Regions from separate parts of the Homo sapiens genome. Here all the other regions are linked to region 5. The links are contacts of gene promoters, found by promoter capture Hi-C in blood cells and fetal thymus (Javierre and others, 2016). All regions are on one chromosome and are shown on one strand. The core of a region is centred on a gene start or on the middle of the fragment in contact, and the rest is flanking DNA. Distances in the headings are between cores, read along the strand shown.

Region 1 (2,700 bases), core at 11-2,510, 500 kb before region 5:
GACAAAGATGCCAAGGCAATTCAGTAGGGAAAGAAAACTCTTTCCAACAACTGGGTATATAAATAGAAAAAAAAGTCAACATTGACCCTTACCATAAAACATTCACAGAAATTAACTCTAAATGAGTCACAGACCTAAATATAAAACCTATAAAACTTCTAGGAGAAAAGACCACAGAAAATCTCTGCAATTAGGGAGGCAAAAGTTTCTTTTTTTTAATTATTATTATTTCTTAAGACGGAATCTCGCTCTGTCGCCCAGGCTGGAGTGCAGTGGCACCACCTTGACTCGCTACGACCTCCAGGGAGGCAAAGGTTTCTTAAATAGGATACATAAAAGCATGAAATGTAAGAAAAAAATGATAAATTTAAACCTTTTGCTCTTCAAAAGACATCATTAAGAAAATGAAAGACAAACCAGACTGGAAGGAAGTATAACAGACAAACGAGTTGTATTCAGGACAGATTTTTTTAAATACCACAATTCAATAAGATAACCCACTTTTTTTAATGGACAAAAATGTAAACATTTTACAAAAGTAGACACACAAATGGCCAATAAGAATAGGAACAGATGAAGGCTGGGCGCGGTGGCTCACACCGTTAATCCCAGCACTTTGGGAGGCAAAGGTGGGCAGATCACCTGAGGTTGGGAGTTCGAGACCAGCCTGACCAACATGGAGAAACCCCGTCTCTACTAAAAATATAAAATTAGCCAGGCGTGGCGGCACATGCCTGTAATCCCAGCTACTCCGGAGGGTGAGCAGAAGAATAGCTTGAATCTGGGAGGCGGAGGTTGCAGTGAGCCGAGATTGCACCATTGCACTCCAGCCTGGGCAACAAGAGTGAAACTCTGTCTCAAAAAAAATAAAATAAAAAAGAATATGAACAGATGCAAAAAAAAAAAGATCAAAAAAAGAAAGAATACGAACAGATGCTCAACATTATTATTCATATATGATGAATTAAAAACCACAAATTAGGCCAGGTGTGGTGGCTCAAGCATGTAATCCCAGCACTTTGGGAGGCCAAGGTGGGCAGAACACTTAAGGTCAGGAGTTCGAGACCAGCCTGGCCAACATGGTGAAATCCCATCTCTACTAAAAATACCAAAATTAGTCAGGCGTGGTGATGCACACCGGTAATCCCAGCTACTCAGGAGGCTAAGGCAGAAGAATCAGTTAAACCTGGGAGGCAAAGGGTTCGGTGAGCCAGGATCAGGCCACTGCACTCCAGCCTGGGTGACAGAGGGAGACACTGTCTCAAAAAAAGAAAAAAAAAAAAAAAAAACCCATGAATTAAAACCACAGTGAGATACCACTACACACCCATTAAATTAGCTAAAATTGAAAAGACTGACTCATACATTGCTGGTAGGAATGCAAAATAATACCACTTTGGAAAGCAGGTAGTTTCCTAAAAAGCTAAACATACTCCTGCCATATGAATCAACCAACCTAGGATGGTAAATACCATCTTAGATATTTATCAAAAGAAATGAAAGCATTTGTCCACACAAGACTTGTACATGAACGTTCACAGCAGCCTTATTGTTTGACACCCTAAAACTGAAAATAACTCAAATGTCAATCAAGATAGATGGCTAAACAAATTATGGTATCCATAATGGAATTCTACCCAGCAATAAAAACTATTTGTCATCTCAAAATCATTATTCTGAGTGAAAGAAATCATGAAAAAAATGAGAACATACTGTGTGACTTCATTTATATAAAATCCTAGAATATGCAAACCACTGTACAGTGGTGCCCGTGGACAGGAGTGGAGGAAGAAATGGCAGAGACATGAACAAACTTTTGAGAGAGATGAAAATGTTTATTATCTTGATTGTGGCAATGGTTTCACGGGTACAGACATACGTCAAAGCTGACCATAGTGTACGCTTTAAATATGTGCAGTCTATTGTACTCTAATTATACCTCAATAAAGGTATTTTTAAAAATTAATGGACTGGCAGGCCTCTAAGGCCAAAACCTACCATCCCAAACAATGCTAGAAACACTTGATGGGACAGGCGCAGTGGCTCATGCCTGTAATCCTAGCACTTTGGAAGGCCAAGATGGGCGAACTGCCTGAGCTCAGGAGTTCAAGACCAGCCTGGGCAACACTGTGAAACCCCTTCTCTACTAAAATACAAAAACTTAGCAGGGCACAGCGGTGTGCACCTGTAATCCCAGCTACTCGGGAGGCTGAGGCAGGAGAATTGCTTGAACCCAGGAGGTGGAGGTTGTGGTGAGCCGAGATCATGCCACTGCACTCCAGCCTAGGCGACAGAGCAAGACTCCATCTCCAACAACAACAACAACAACAACAACAACAACAAAGACTTGATGGTACCAACAGGCCATTAAGAGCTGAGTCCCATGTAATAACTCTTAGGAAACTCTCCATGTAGGAATTTCTTACTATCAGTGTAGGACTCAGAAATACAGTACCCATATACCCTCTTATGAATAAGCATAAGCATACTGAAAAGGCAACAGTTCATATGATCATAATTAACTCTTGGAGATTAAATCAAGGTGGTTAGGGAATCCCTCCTCCAGGTCTCATGTTTTATTTTTAAAGCACTCAACAAAAACAATTCTCAAGTATTTTACAATATCTACCCATCAACCCCAGGACATTTGATTATTTGTAAAAAAAACCAGATTAAGCTCAAACTTCCCTTTCCATACAT
Region 2 (2,700 bases), core at 180-2,679, 400 kb before region 5:
GGAGAAAAAAATAAAAAGACAGAGATTTGTGCTCATTGCTCAGCAAGCTGTCCATTGAATCTGTACTTTAAAAATTTCTCCGCCCTAATGGAAAAATTGGAAATGAAATCCTCCTTCAGTCTCTCAAAATAAGATGATGTCATGATGCAGGTAGGGCTGAATGCCCAGAATTGGGCAAAGCGATAAAGCAGGAGGATCAGCAAAGATTGATGAGGAGCCCTCAGGCCTTCTAACCTAATATAATGAAGAGTTAGAGGATCATAGTGATGGTGGTGTGGCTATTTTCTGGTTTGAGGATTTGCAGGAAAATAGACTTTTTACTTCTGACTTTGGAGATAGGTGAGTTTGGAGTGTAAAGTGTCAATGTTTGAAGCCAGAACTCTAGTGTCCAAATAATTAAACAATTGGGGCAGAAGAAAAGCAGAATAAAATGTTTTGTTTTCAAGGAAGGAAACCCTTAGTAGCAGAGCTAGTCCCTTAGGACCAGAGCTAGTGTTGGAAGGGTCAGATCTGGTCAGAATAATTCACCTGGAGATAACTTCTAACTTGGGTTTCTCTGAAGTGGGTAGTTAAGAAGAAAAGAAAGTGGGATTATTCGTCCTGAGTCTCAACTCGTACTCGCCCATCCTGAACTCTCACTGTCTCTCCCTTTCCTTTCAAATAAGCCCAAACTCCTTTGCCTGGCTTCAAAGACTTCCTGAGCTGGCCTGTTTTTCCTGCCTTACCCCGTCTATTCTACTATTTATAAGGTATAATAGTTTCAAATAAACTAAATTACTGTTTCTTGTCCAGAATTTGCCTTTGCTCATTGCCATTCCTCCCATCTCAGATAACTTCCTACTCAACTGCATTCATTCTTCAAAGCTTAATTTTGATAATTTAAGCATAAAATTCTCTCAGGCTTCTCCAAACTATTGTAGTACTTTATACATACTTTAATAGGACTTTTCTATTTTGCACCATCTTATTAGACGTGGAGGCAGGATCTATGGTTTGCTTTTTGTCTCTCTCTCAGCCCCTGGCCAAGTGCCTTGATCAATAAGGTGCTAAAAAAATATTAATTGAATGAATGGCTAATGACCAAAACTTACCAGACTAATTGAATTTATTTCAGTAGCAGACCTGGAAACGAGGAGGCCGTTGCAGGGATTCATTGATACAGTTGACTTAGCACCCTGCCTCTTAGTGCATTTGCATATGAGTCTCTAGAAGCCTGTTGTTCTCACAGTCCAGGATCTGAAGGCCTTGGAGACCAGCATGGGCCACAGGCATCTCTTTGTTTTGAGGATAGAACCGTGACAGGAAGAAAATTGACCAGTATTACACTAGAATTAATGAAGCTAGAAATGCTTTTGGCATTCTAGACCAGCACATGGGTTTGTTTTTACCCCTTTGCCTCTACAGGATGGAGCTGCAAAGGTGACCTGCATGGCTTGGTCCCAGAACAATGCCAAATTTGCTGTCTGCACAGTGGACCGAGTGGTCTTGCTGTATGATGAACATGGAGAACGGAGAGATAAATTCTCCACCAAACCAGCTGACATGAAGGTAAACAGTGTATTCATGTGTACCTTATTTAACCTATTGATGGGGTCTCACAACTTGAAAGACGTAGTCTGCCTTCTAGCCATCAGCATAGGAAATGGCATACCCCACCTTTTTCTCAGTATAAATCCTCAAGCTCCCTTAGGAGCACACATATGCCTTTTTTTCTCTTTTCTCTTTCATGTGTACTCATTACTTCTTTTTCTTTCTTTTTTTTTTTTTAAACTCTTAGTATGGCAGGAAGAGCTATATGGTGAAGGGCATGGCTTTTTCTCCTGATTCCACTAAAATTGCCATAGGACAGACTGACAACATCATCTATGTCTACAAGATTGGAGAAGATTGGTGAGGATAGAGACTGGGAGATGGGATGGCCCAGGAAAGAAGGGGAAGGCAAGAGAAATGCCTCACTGGGGAGGGGAAATACAGGGGATGAGAAGCCAAGCTTGGCCATTGAAGGCAGAGACTTTCTGGAGTCTGTTTTTGCTTTTCTGCCTTCACCTGTCCCACGTGTTCTTCAATCCCATCCCTGGAGGAAACAGTCCAAGGTCAACAGGAGGCCCTGTGAGATCCTGGAAGCCCAGAGTGATGTCACATCTTTGTTATTGTTCTGAAGCTGCTTAGGCTCCCTCATATACCTCCTTTCAGGGCTCCTACAGAGTAGTCAGAAATACTACTGGGCCAGGGAAGAAATCTGCTCTTTCTTCTCTTCCCTCAGCATCATTTTTGGCAATTTGTTTATGGAAGTGGTATTTATTTATTTATTTATTTTGAGATAGAGTCTCACTCTGTCACCCAGGCTGGAGTGCAGTGGCGCGATTGTGGCTCACTGCAAGCTCCTCCTCCCAGGTTCACGCAATTCTCCTGCCTCAGCCTCCCGAGTAGCTGGGACTACAGGCGCCCACCACCACACCCGGCTAATTTTTTGTATTTTTAGTAGAGACGGGGTTTCACTGTGTTAGCCAGGATGGTCTCGATCTCCTGACCTCATGATCCTCCCGCCTCGGCCTCCCAAAGTGCTGGGATTACAGGCATGAGCCACCACGCCCGGCCTGGAAGTGGTTTTTAATATGTTTCCCCTTCTTTTGTTTGGCAGGGGTGACAAGAAAGTCATCTGCAACAAGTTCATCCAGACGGTAAAGTTCAGACCAGTCC
Region 3 (2,700 bases), core at 119-2,618, 260 kb before region 5:
AACTTAACAGGGCTTGAGTTTTGCTAAGCATGTGGAACAAGAAGATGAATATCAGCGAGAATCTGATTGAAATGAAGGAATCTAAACTAGATAGGATGTGGCTGACATACAGAGAAATTGGAGAGATCAAGGGATAGTGGCTTGATACAGCTGGAGAATAAAAGTGATAGTGGGTAAGCAGTCTAGCTGTAATGATGGGAGATCAGATAGTTAGATGTCTTAGTGATTTTGGAGGTTAAGAGGTTTGGGTGATGACAAGGTTCAGAGAATGACAGCAAAGTGAGTAGCTGCGGTTTAGCTGAATGTTCTAAGCATCAAAGGAACAAGATTTTTACAAGATGGGGGGCGTGTGGGACTGTTGGTCTGCAAGTGGCATTGCAGAGGAATTGAAGGGACTGATCCCACTTTGAACCCTGAGGTAGGTGGGATGTGAGTGAATGAGCAACTTCCACTTGAGAGCCTGGAAAGTGAGAAATTTCATTGTCTGGAATTTTTTGCATCCAAGATTCTGAATATGATTTAGGTTTTACAAATCAAATATGCTCCTGGAGAACTTAAATTTGAATCTGATTTTAGAGAGGAGAAAGGCAGACTAGGAGGCATGTATTTGCTGGTGCAGATTTTGGCAGTGATGAGGTTCTGGATCAGGAGCTAGAGAAGCGGCTCTCCTATTTAGTTAGGTCACTTTCTGATTACTGCAGACACAACTTGTTTATGGAGCCATTGGCTGTGGTAGGGGCTTGTTGATTCAGCAGGTGGTTTCCCATCATAGCATATGTTTTGTTATTATTTTATTTTATATTTTTGAGATGGAGTCTCACTCTGTCACCCAGGCTGGAGTGCAGTGGCGCGATCTCAGCTCACTGCAGCCTCCACCTTCCAGGTTCCAGCGATTCTCCTGCCTCAGCCTCCTGAGTAGCTGGGACTACAAGTGCACGTGGCACCACGCCCAGCTAATTTTTGTGTTTTTAGTAGAGACGAGGTTTCACCATGTTAGCCAAGCTGGTCTCAAACTCCTGACCTTAGGTGATCCGCCCTCTTCAGCCTCCCAGAGTGCTAGGATTACAGGCGTGAGCCACCATGCCCGGCCTGCTATTTTTTATTTTTAGATACAGGGTCTTGCTCTGTGAGGATGGAATGCAGTGCCACAATCATAGCTCACTGCAGTCTTCAACTCCTGGGCATAAGTGATCCTCCCACCTCAGTCTCCCAAGTAGCTAAGACTGCAGTTGCATGCCACTACACTCAGCTAATTTTTTTTTTTTTTTTTTGAGATGGAGTCTTGCTGTGTCGCCCAGACTAGAGTGCAGTGGTGCAGTCTCGGCTCACTGCAAACTCTGCCTCCTGTATTCAAGCGATTCTCCTGCCTCAGCCTCCCGAGTAGCTGGGATTACAGGCATATTCCACCACGCCTGGCTAATTTTTGTATTTTTTAGTAGAGACGGGGTTTCATCGCTTTTGGCCAGGCTGGTCGGGAACTCCTGACCTTAGGTGATCCACCTGCCTCAGCCTCCCAGAGTGCTGGGATTACAGGCATGAGCCACCGCACCCAGCCTCAGCTAATTTTCAAAAAAAATTTTTTTGCAGAGACAAAGTCTTGCTGTGTTGCCCAGGCTGATCTTGAACTCCTGGCCTCAAGCGATCCTCCCACCTTGGCCTCCCAAAGTGTTGAGATTACAGGCATGAGCCACTGCGCCCAGCCCAGCACATGATTCTTGAGCCAGCAGCTGTAAATAAGAGCACCTTCCCAGTTTGATAAGCACTTGTTCCTACCAACTGTTTTTCCCTCAACCCTCATCGTGATCATTTATTTATGCAAGTGTTTTTCAGCTTGAGTGTGCGTCAGAATCCCCTGAAGAGCTTGTTAAAACACAAGGTGCTGGCCCCATCCAGAATTGCTGATTCGGTAGGTCTGGGGTAGAACTAGGAATTTGCATTTTAACAAATTTGCAGGTGATACTGATGCTGCAGTTTCTGGGGCCACACTTTGTGAACCTCTGATATGAACTGTTTAATACCGTGTAGTGAATTCCTTTCTGCTTGAACTGATTGGAGAGGATTCTGTTCTATGCAACTGAGCCAATATGGGGGGAATATTTATTTTATTTATATCTTCATTGTTCTTATCTACTTTGTCATTGATTAAAAGAAGTTATTGTTCTGTGTCATGAACATTTTGCTTTGTATCTTTTGATGCTGTTATTTGATGTTTAAATGTTCCTGACATTTATATCTTTTATATGATTTGAAGTTTTATTCATTATAAACTACTCCCTTTTGGGCTGGGCACAGTGGCTCATGCTTGTAATCCCAGCACTTTGGGAAACTGAGGCAGGGGGATCATTTGAGGTCAGGAGTTCAAGGCCAGCCTGGCCAACACAGCCAGACCCCGTCTCTACTAAAAAATACAAAAGTTAGCCAGGCATGGTGGCACATGCCTGTAATCCCAGCTACTCGGGAGGCTGAGGCAGGAGAGTTGCTTGAACCCAGGAGGCAGAGGTTGCAGTGAGCCGAGATCACGCCACTGCATTCCAGCCTGGGCAACAGAGAGAGGCTCCGTCTCAAAAAAAAAAAATAGTACTCCCTTTATTCCTATTTAATGTTTTCCCCCTAAATTCGACTTTACTATTGTCATCAAAACTCCTCCTTTGTTTTTGCTTAGATTTTGCCCTGTACATTTTAGTTGATCTTTGTATTTTC
Region 4 (2,700 bases), core at 38-2,537, 320 kb before region 5:
AAAAAATACAAAAAAATTAGCTGGGCATGGTGGCACCCACCTGTAGTCCCAGTTACTTGGGAGGCTGAGATAGAAAATCACTTTGAGCCTGAGAGGCAGAGCCTTCATTGAGCCAAGATCGCCCCTCTGCACTCCAATCTGGGTGACAGAGCGAGACGCTGTCTCAAAAAATAAATGAATAGGCCAGGCATGGTGGCTCATGCCTGTAATCCTAACACTTTGGGAGGCTGCGGCGGGCGGATTGCCTGAGCTTAGGAGTTCGAGACCAGCCTGGACAACATGAAGAAACCCCGTCTTTATTAAAATACAAAAAATTAGCTGAATGTGGTGGTGCGTGCCTATAATCATAGCTACTTGGAAGGCTGAGGCAGGAGAATCGCTTGAATCCCAGAGGCGGAGGTTGCAGTGAGCCAAGATCGTGCCACTGTACTCCAGCCTGGGCGACAGAGTGAGACACTGTCTCAAAAAAAAAAAAAAAAAGAATAAATAAATAAATCTGGGTATAGTTTCGTAGGAAAGTCTTTTTGTAAAGTAGGTAGTCAAGAAGTTCCATTTCCATGGCATTTTCTGTTAACGTTGTGAGATTTGAGGTGAATATTCCATCTCGCAGTAAAACGTTTCTTCCAGGTTTCTCATTTAATATTTTTCACTTCTCTGCTGTTGTTTTTTCATTTCTTTGGTACCCTTCTTTCTACTTTTACTTACGGATTGAGTTGCTTGGCTACTCAGTGTTTCACGTTGGTTTGCCCAGTGATTCCATACTATTTGCTGCTTCTCTGTAGGGCATTTCCCTTTATTTTTGGTTTCTCCTCAATTAGAAAATGATTTTTTTTGTCAGGGACGGTTTAGTGTGTAGAGATCTTACTAGACTATTCCTTACATCCTAATCTTCCTCCTGAGAGATAACTGCTTAGGGTATTAAAATCTTGCTAATGTGCTGTTTCTGAAGTTGCCCTTGTTTGAATAAATATGCCTAATCAATAGTTAAATATGCCTAATCAAATCCTCTTGAAGAGTATTGTTTGGGATCCTATTCTGCTTCATTGATAGTGTTCCTTCTGGCTTTTTTTCTCTTCAAAGTGTAGCATAGTTTCTTTGCTATTGCAAGAAAATAACTATGAGTTCTAGCCTCTTCCCTGAATCTTATCTTTCCAGAAAATATAAAGTACTCCCATTCCTCTGAAGCTTTAGGGCTTAATCCAAAAATTAATAAAGTTTATTTACCCTATTTGCTTGGTCCTAATGCTTCATTTGAGGTAAGGTTATCATACCACTAAAGGTTGTTGACATGCTGACTGATGGATAGATTTAGCCGTAGAGAGGACTCTTGAGACAAAAATGGCAATCATCAATAGCTGGCATTTTTACTTTCTGCCTGTTTCAAGCTTCTCTTCCTGTGTGACCAGGGTGTTGTTGTTGTTTGTTTTGTTTTGTTTTGTTTTTGAGACGGAGTTTCTATCTTGTTGCCCAGGCTGGAGTACAATGGCATGATCTCGGCTCACTGCAACCTCCGCCTCCCGGGTTCAAGCGATTCTCCTGCCTCAGCCTCCTGAGTAGCTGGGATTACAGGCATGTGCCACCACGCCTGGCTAATTTTGTATTTTTAGTAGAGATGGGGGTCTCTCCATGTTGGTCAGGCTGGTCTCGAACTTCTGACCTCAGGTGATCGGCCCGCCTCTGCCTCCCAAAATGCTGTGAGCCACCATGCCCAGCAACCAGGGTGTTTTGAGAAAAGGTAATCAAAATACCACAGGCCAGTCGTGGTGGCTTAACGCCTGTAATCCCAGCAGTTTGGGAGGCCGAGGGGGGCAGATCACCTGAGGTCAGTTCGAGACCAGCCTAGTCAACATGGTGAAACCCCGTCTCTACTGAAAATACAAAAATTAGCCAGAGGCCAGAGAATTGCTTGAATAGGAAGGCCAGTGAGCCGAGATCTCACCGCTGCACTCTAGCCAGGGTGACAGACTCCGTCTCAAAAAAACAAACAAAAAAACCACCACAGTTGATGTTCTCCTCCTTCCTCCTTTCTCCATGAAAAAAGTGGATGAGGTATGTACTTTGGGATTAAGAGGTAGGCACTGGGCACGGTGGCTCATGCCTGTAATCCCAGCACTTTGGGAGGCCGAGGTGGGCGGATCACGAGATCAAGAGACCGAGATCATTCTGGCCAATATGGTGAAACCCTGTCTCTTCTAAAATACAAGAATTAGCTGGGCATGGTGGCGCACGCCTGTAGTCCCAGCTACTCCGGAGGCTGAGGCAGGAGAATCGCTTGAACCTGGGAGGCGGAGGTTGCAGTGAGCCGAGATCGCACCACTGCACTCCAGCCTGGGCGACAGGGTGAGACTCCATCTTAAAAAAAAAAAAAAAAAAATGAGGTAGGTTGTGGAGGGGTGCCTGAAAAATTATAAGGTAAGGCCCTTGAGTTTTTGTTGGCTAAATAAGAAGTCAAATCTGAAAATAGATTCAGTTGATGTAGTCTTTTTTTTTTTTTTTTTTCTCCGAGACGGAGTCTTGCACTGTTGCCCAGGCTGGAGTATAATGGCATGATCTTGGCTCACTGCAACCTCTGCCTCCTGAGTTCAAGCGATTCTCCTGCCTCAGCTTCCCGAGTAGCTGGGATTACAGGCGCCTGCCACCATGCCCGGCTAATTTTTTGTATTTTCAATAGAGACAGGGTTTCACTATGTTGGCCGGGTT
Region 5 (2,700 bases), core at 185-2,684:
GAGTCTGGAGGTCAAGGCTGCAGTGAGCATGGTTGCACCACTGCACTCCAGCCTGGACGACAGAATGAGACCCTGTCTCAAAAAAAAAAAAAAAAAAAAAAAAAAAGAACCAACAACTGACTCTTCAGTTTCTAGCAGACAACTGAGAAAGATATTTCCCACTACTAAACGGTGTTCATTGACCTCTGTGAAAAGGACTTCTGGTAAACTCCTCTTGGAATTTAGCACCAGGAAAAAGCTTGCCAGGGCTCATGAACCAGCTCTATCCATACATAACCCATGGCATCTCATGTTTGCCTCCAGTGCCAGCAAGCCCTGAGCTATAGTTGAAGCTCAAATACCATGGTCTTAAATGTTCTCCAACAGTTTAACTGTACATACTTTTTACTGTAAGCTACCTCAAATCTTTCTCAGAAATAGGTGCGAGATATGTGGATAAATAAGTTAGAAGTAAATGTTGATGAGAGGCAAGTGCATAGGCTTGGGGTTTAAAAAGAAACAGCAGAAGCAGGTAGCTGTGTGCCCCTGGATAAGCCCCTTGGTCTCTGAATCTATACTTATCAGTAAAATGGGGATCCTGATGCCTGACACCTGACACCTGATGCCTGAGTTGAAATGGAAATTGGCTAACACGATGCTATTAAATCCTGGGTCTTCTTATTAAAGGCCTCAATTCCTTCCTCTCTTCTGTCATGCTGGGAGCCCCCCCAGGATTCCCGGGTAGAGGGCGCGGGTCCGGCCTTGAAGCCGGGTTCTCAGGGCCTCACTGCGGGGTCTCTGCAGCCTCGGTCGCTGGCACAAATGCTGGACTGCAGCAGCCCCTGGGGTCCCCTAGGGGACCTGGGCGCCCCTACCTTATCTCCGAGTCCTCCTTAGGGTACTTGTCCACCAGGCTGATGACGTCCAGCACCACTAGCCCCACGCACAGGATCTGCTTCTCTTCCATGAGGCTACTCCCAGAGCTTCCTGCCCGCCCGGCTGACGGGGTTCCTCCCGGCCTCTGCCTCTTATCCAGGAGGATGGTGTCCCCGCTCCCAGCTGCCCTGGCTCCTCCTCCGCGTGGGAGCTCCTCCTCCAGGGAGCCACCTGCAGCGGCCAGGGGTGCAGGGAACGAAAGGAGCAGGGCCCTTCCTCGCGACACCCGAAGACCCGAGCGGGTCTAGGAAAGCCAACCCAGAGGTCTTGGTCCCCGGTCTTCCCGTAGCAGGTTGCCTGGGCCTGCAGATGGCAACGCCTCCCACTTCTCAGCCTTAGTTTCCTCGCTTGTCAGATGGACTCACAGCTGATGCAAACCTTTTTAAAGCGCGGCTAAGCGATCTCGAGAATGCAAAGAGAAAATGCGCTACTTGCCCCGCACTCTCCTGCACCTGCGTCTCCGACTCCCGACCCGGGACACGCGAGGTACAGCTGGGCCTCGCATCTGCAGCCCTGCCTGAAGCCCGCGGTCGCGGCGGCCCCGCCCCGCCCCGCCCCGCCCCGCCCCGGTTAGTCCCAGCCGAGGCCACGCCTCCGCCGCGGAGGAGCAGGACCCGCCGGGTGGGCCGCAGCCTCACGTGGCGGGAACGCAGAGCGCCCCCTGGCGGACGCCGGCGAAACGGGCGTGACACGGGGGAGACGTCGCAGGAGCCGGGCGGGCGCCGCTTGCTGCCTGAGCCAACCCCGAGCCGCCCCGAGCCGGGCGGAGGCGGCGAACGCAGTGCGGAACCCGGGGTCCTCTCCGGAGGCCGTCGTCTCTCCCGCCCCGTGCCCTGTGCACGCCCGGCAGCCCCCGACCCCGTACCGTAGCAGAACGGTTCGTTTAGTTTTTTTTAGAAAAACCAAGTGTCTTTATTCCTCGATCGTTTAGTATGGCGGTGGGCGGCGCCCGCGCGGGGGAGCCTGGAGCCCAGGGAATCGACCTGGAGGGCCAGTGGAGGGAGCGGAGGGTGCGAGGATCGGCTCCTCCGCAGGCCGGCCCTGGAGGGGTTCTTGGGGGATCGCGCCAGGCCAAAAGTCTGCATGGGCGGCCCCGAGCCTCCCTGAGCCGGCGCGCCCCGGGCGTGGGGAGAGGCCGCTCTGGGCGCGGTGCCGCTGCGGGCCCGGGTGCGGCGCTCGCCCAGGGCTAGGTGCCCCGTCTCAGGCGAGACCCCAGGAGCCCGCCGCCCCCGCTGTCTCTTCAGCCGACGTAGACACGTCGGGCGGGACCCCAGTCTACGCGTGTTCAAGCTCTGGGTCCCCATAGAGCAGGGCCCCGCTGAAGATGGTGAGCGGCTCCTCCGAGTGCGCCAGCTGCCCCATGACCAGGTCGACGCAGACCGTGTCCCCGGCCTGCAGCGGCAGGATGAGGCTGAAGACGCCCAGGGTGCCCGGGCTGGGCTGGCTCTCGGCCACCGGCTTATTCTCCAGGCCCTCAGGCTCGTAGCCACCGGAGTCTACGCGGGCCACGCCCTGGTTGGAGCGGGACAGCACGGCCTCCACTTTCTCGTGCCGGTGCCCAGTCAGCACCGCGCTCAGCAAGTAGCGTCCAGCCAGTGGCGCTGTGAACACGCCTGGGGACAAGGATAGCAGTCAGGGGGGCCAGGGAAGCTCCGGGGAGCGCACCAGAACTCCTGGACTGAGGAGGGACCCTCTGGGTCTTTTCACCTCACTGGAATGTGAGCGGCAGGGAACTGGGGGCTTTGTTCACTATGCATTCCCAGCACTTAAAACAGTGCCTGGGCA

What was found. The method cuts DNA at HindIII sites, captures the fragments that hold promoters and counts their contacts. A CHiCAGO score of 5 or more calls a contact.
Region 1: a fragment that was not itself captured here is called in contact with the fragment with the promoter of KHK in region 5 in 1 of 17 cell types (naive B cells); the score reaches 6.1 in naive B cells.
Region 2: a fragment that was not itself captured here is called in contact with the fragment with the promoter of KHK in region 5 in 2 of 17 cell types (neutrophils and naive B cells); the score reaches 6.1 in neutrophils.
Region 3: a contact is called between a fragment that was not itself captured here and the fragment with the promoter of KHK in region 5, in 1 of 17 cell types (total B cells). The highest score is 6.0, in total B cells.
Region 4: a fragment that was not itself captured here is called in contact with the fragment with the promoter of KHK in region 5 in 1 of 17 cell types (total B cells); the score reaches 6.6 in total B cells.

The regions. Positions count from the first base shown.
Region 1 is chr2:27,585,858-27,588,557 of GRCh38, reverse strand. The region is part of intron 2 of ZNF512 (zinc finger protein 512); the gene reads right to left. Among named protein-coding and RNA genes, the nearest start is that of ZNF512, 4.2 kb to the right of the region's middle. The HindIII fragment of the contact is 2,913 bases long and covers 1-2,700 here.
Region 2 is chr2:27,484,208-27,486,907 of GRCh38, reverse strand. It overlaps IFT172 (intraflagellar transport 172), which reads left to right. Exons shown (of 48, transcript NM_015662.3): 2 at 1,405-1,548; 3 at 1,778-1,890; 4 at 2,642-2,681. Among named protein-coding and RNA genes, the nearest start is that of IFT172, 4.2 kb to the left of the region's middle. The HindIII fragment of the contact is 1,126 bases long and covers 867-1,992 here.
Region 3 is chr2:27,349,520-27,352,219 of GRCh38, reverse strand. The region is part of intron 1 of GTF3C2 (general transcription factor IIIC subunit 2); the gene reads left to right. Among named protein-coding and RNA genes, the nearest start is that of GTF3C2, 5.9 kb to the left of the region's middle. The HindIII fragment of the contact is 7,047 bases long and covers 1-2,700 here.
Region 4 is chr2:27,404,747-27,407,446 of GRCh38, reverse strand. The region is part of intron 1 of PPM1G (protein phosphatase, Mg2+/Mn2+ dependent 1G); the gene reads left to right. Among named protein-coding and RNA genes, the nearest start is that of PPM1G, 3.5 kb to the left of the region's middle. The HindIII fragment of the contact is 200 bases long and covers 1,188-1,387 here.
Region 5 is chr2:27,085,506-27,088,205 of GRCh38, reverse strand. It overlaps KHK (ketohexokinase), which reads right to left and starts at 1,434. Exons shown (of 8, transcript NM_006488.3): 1 at 855-1,434. The coding sequence starts at 946. It overlaps EMILIN1 (elastin microfibril interfacer 1), which reads right to left. Exons shown (of 8, transcript NM_007046.4): 8 at 1,803-2,528. The coding sequence ends at 2,191. RefSeq lists enhancers at 1,181-1,240, 2,231-2,450 and silencers at 1,431-1,890, 1,941-2,100. The HindIII fragment of the contact is 6,666 bases long and covers 241-2,700 here.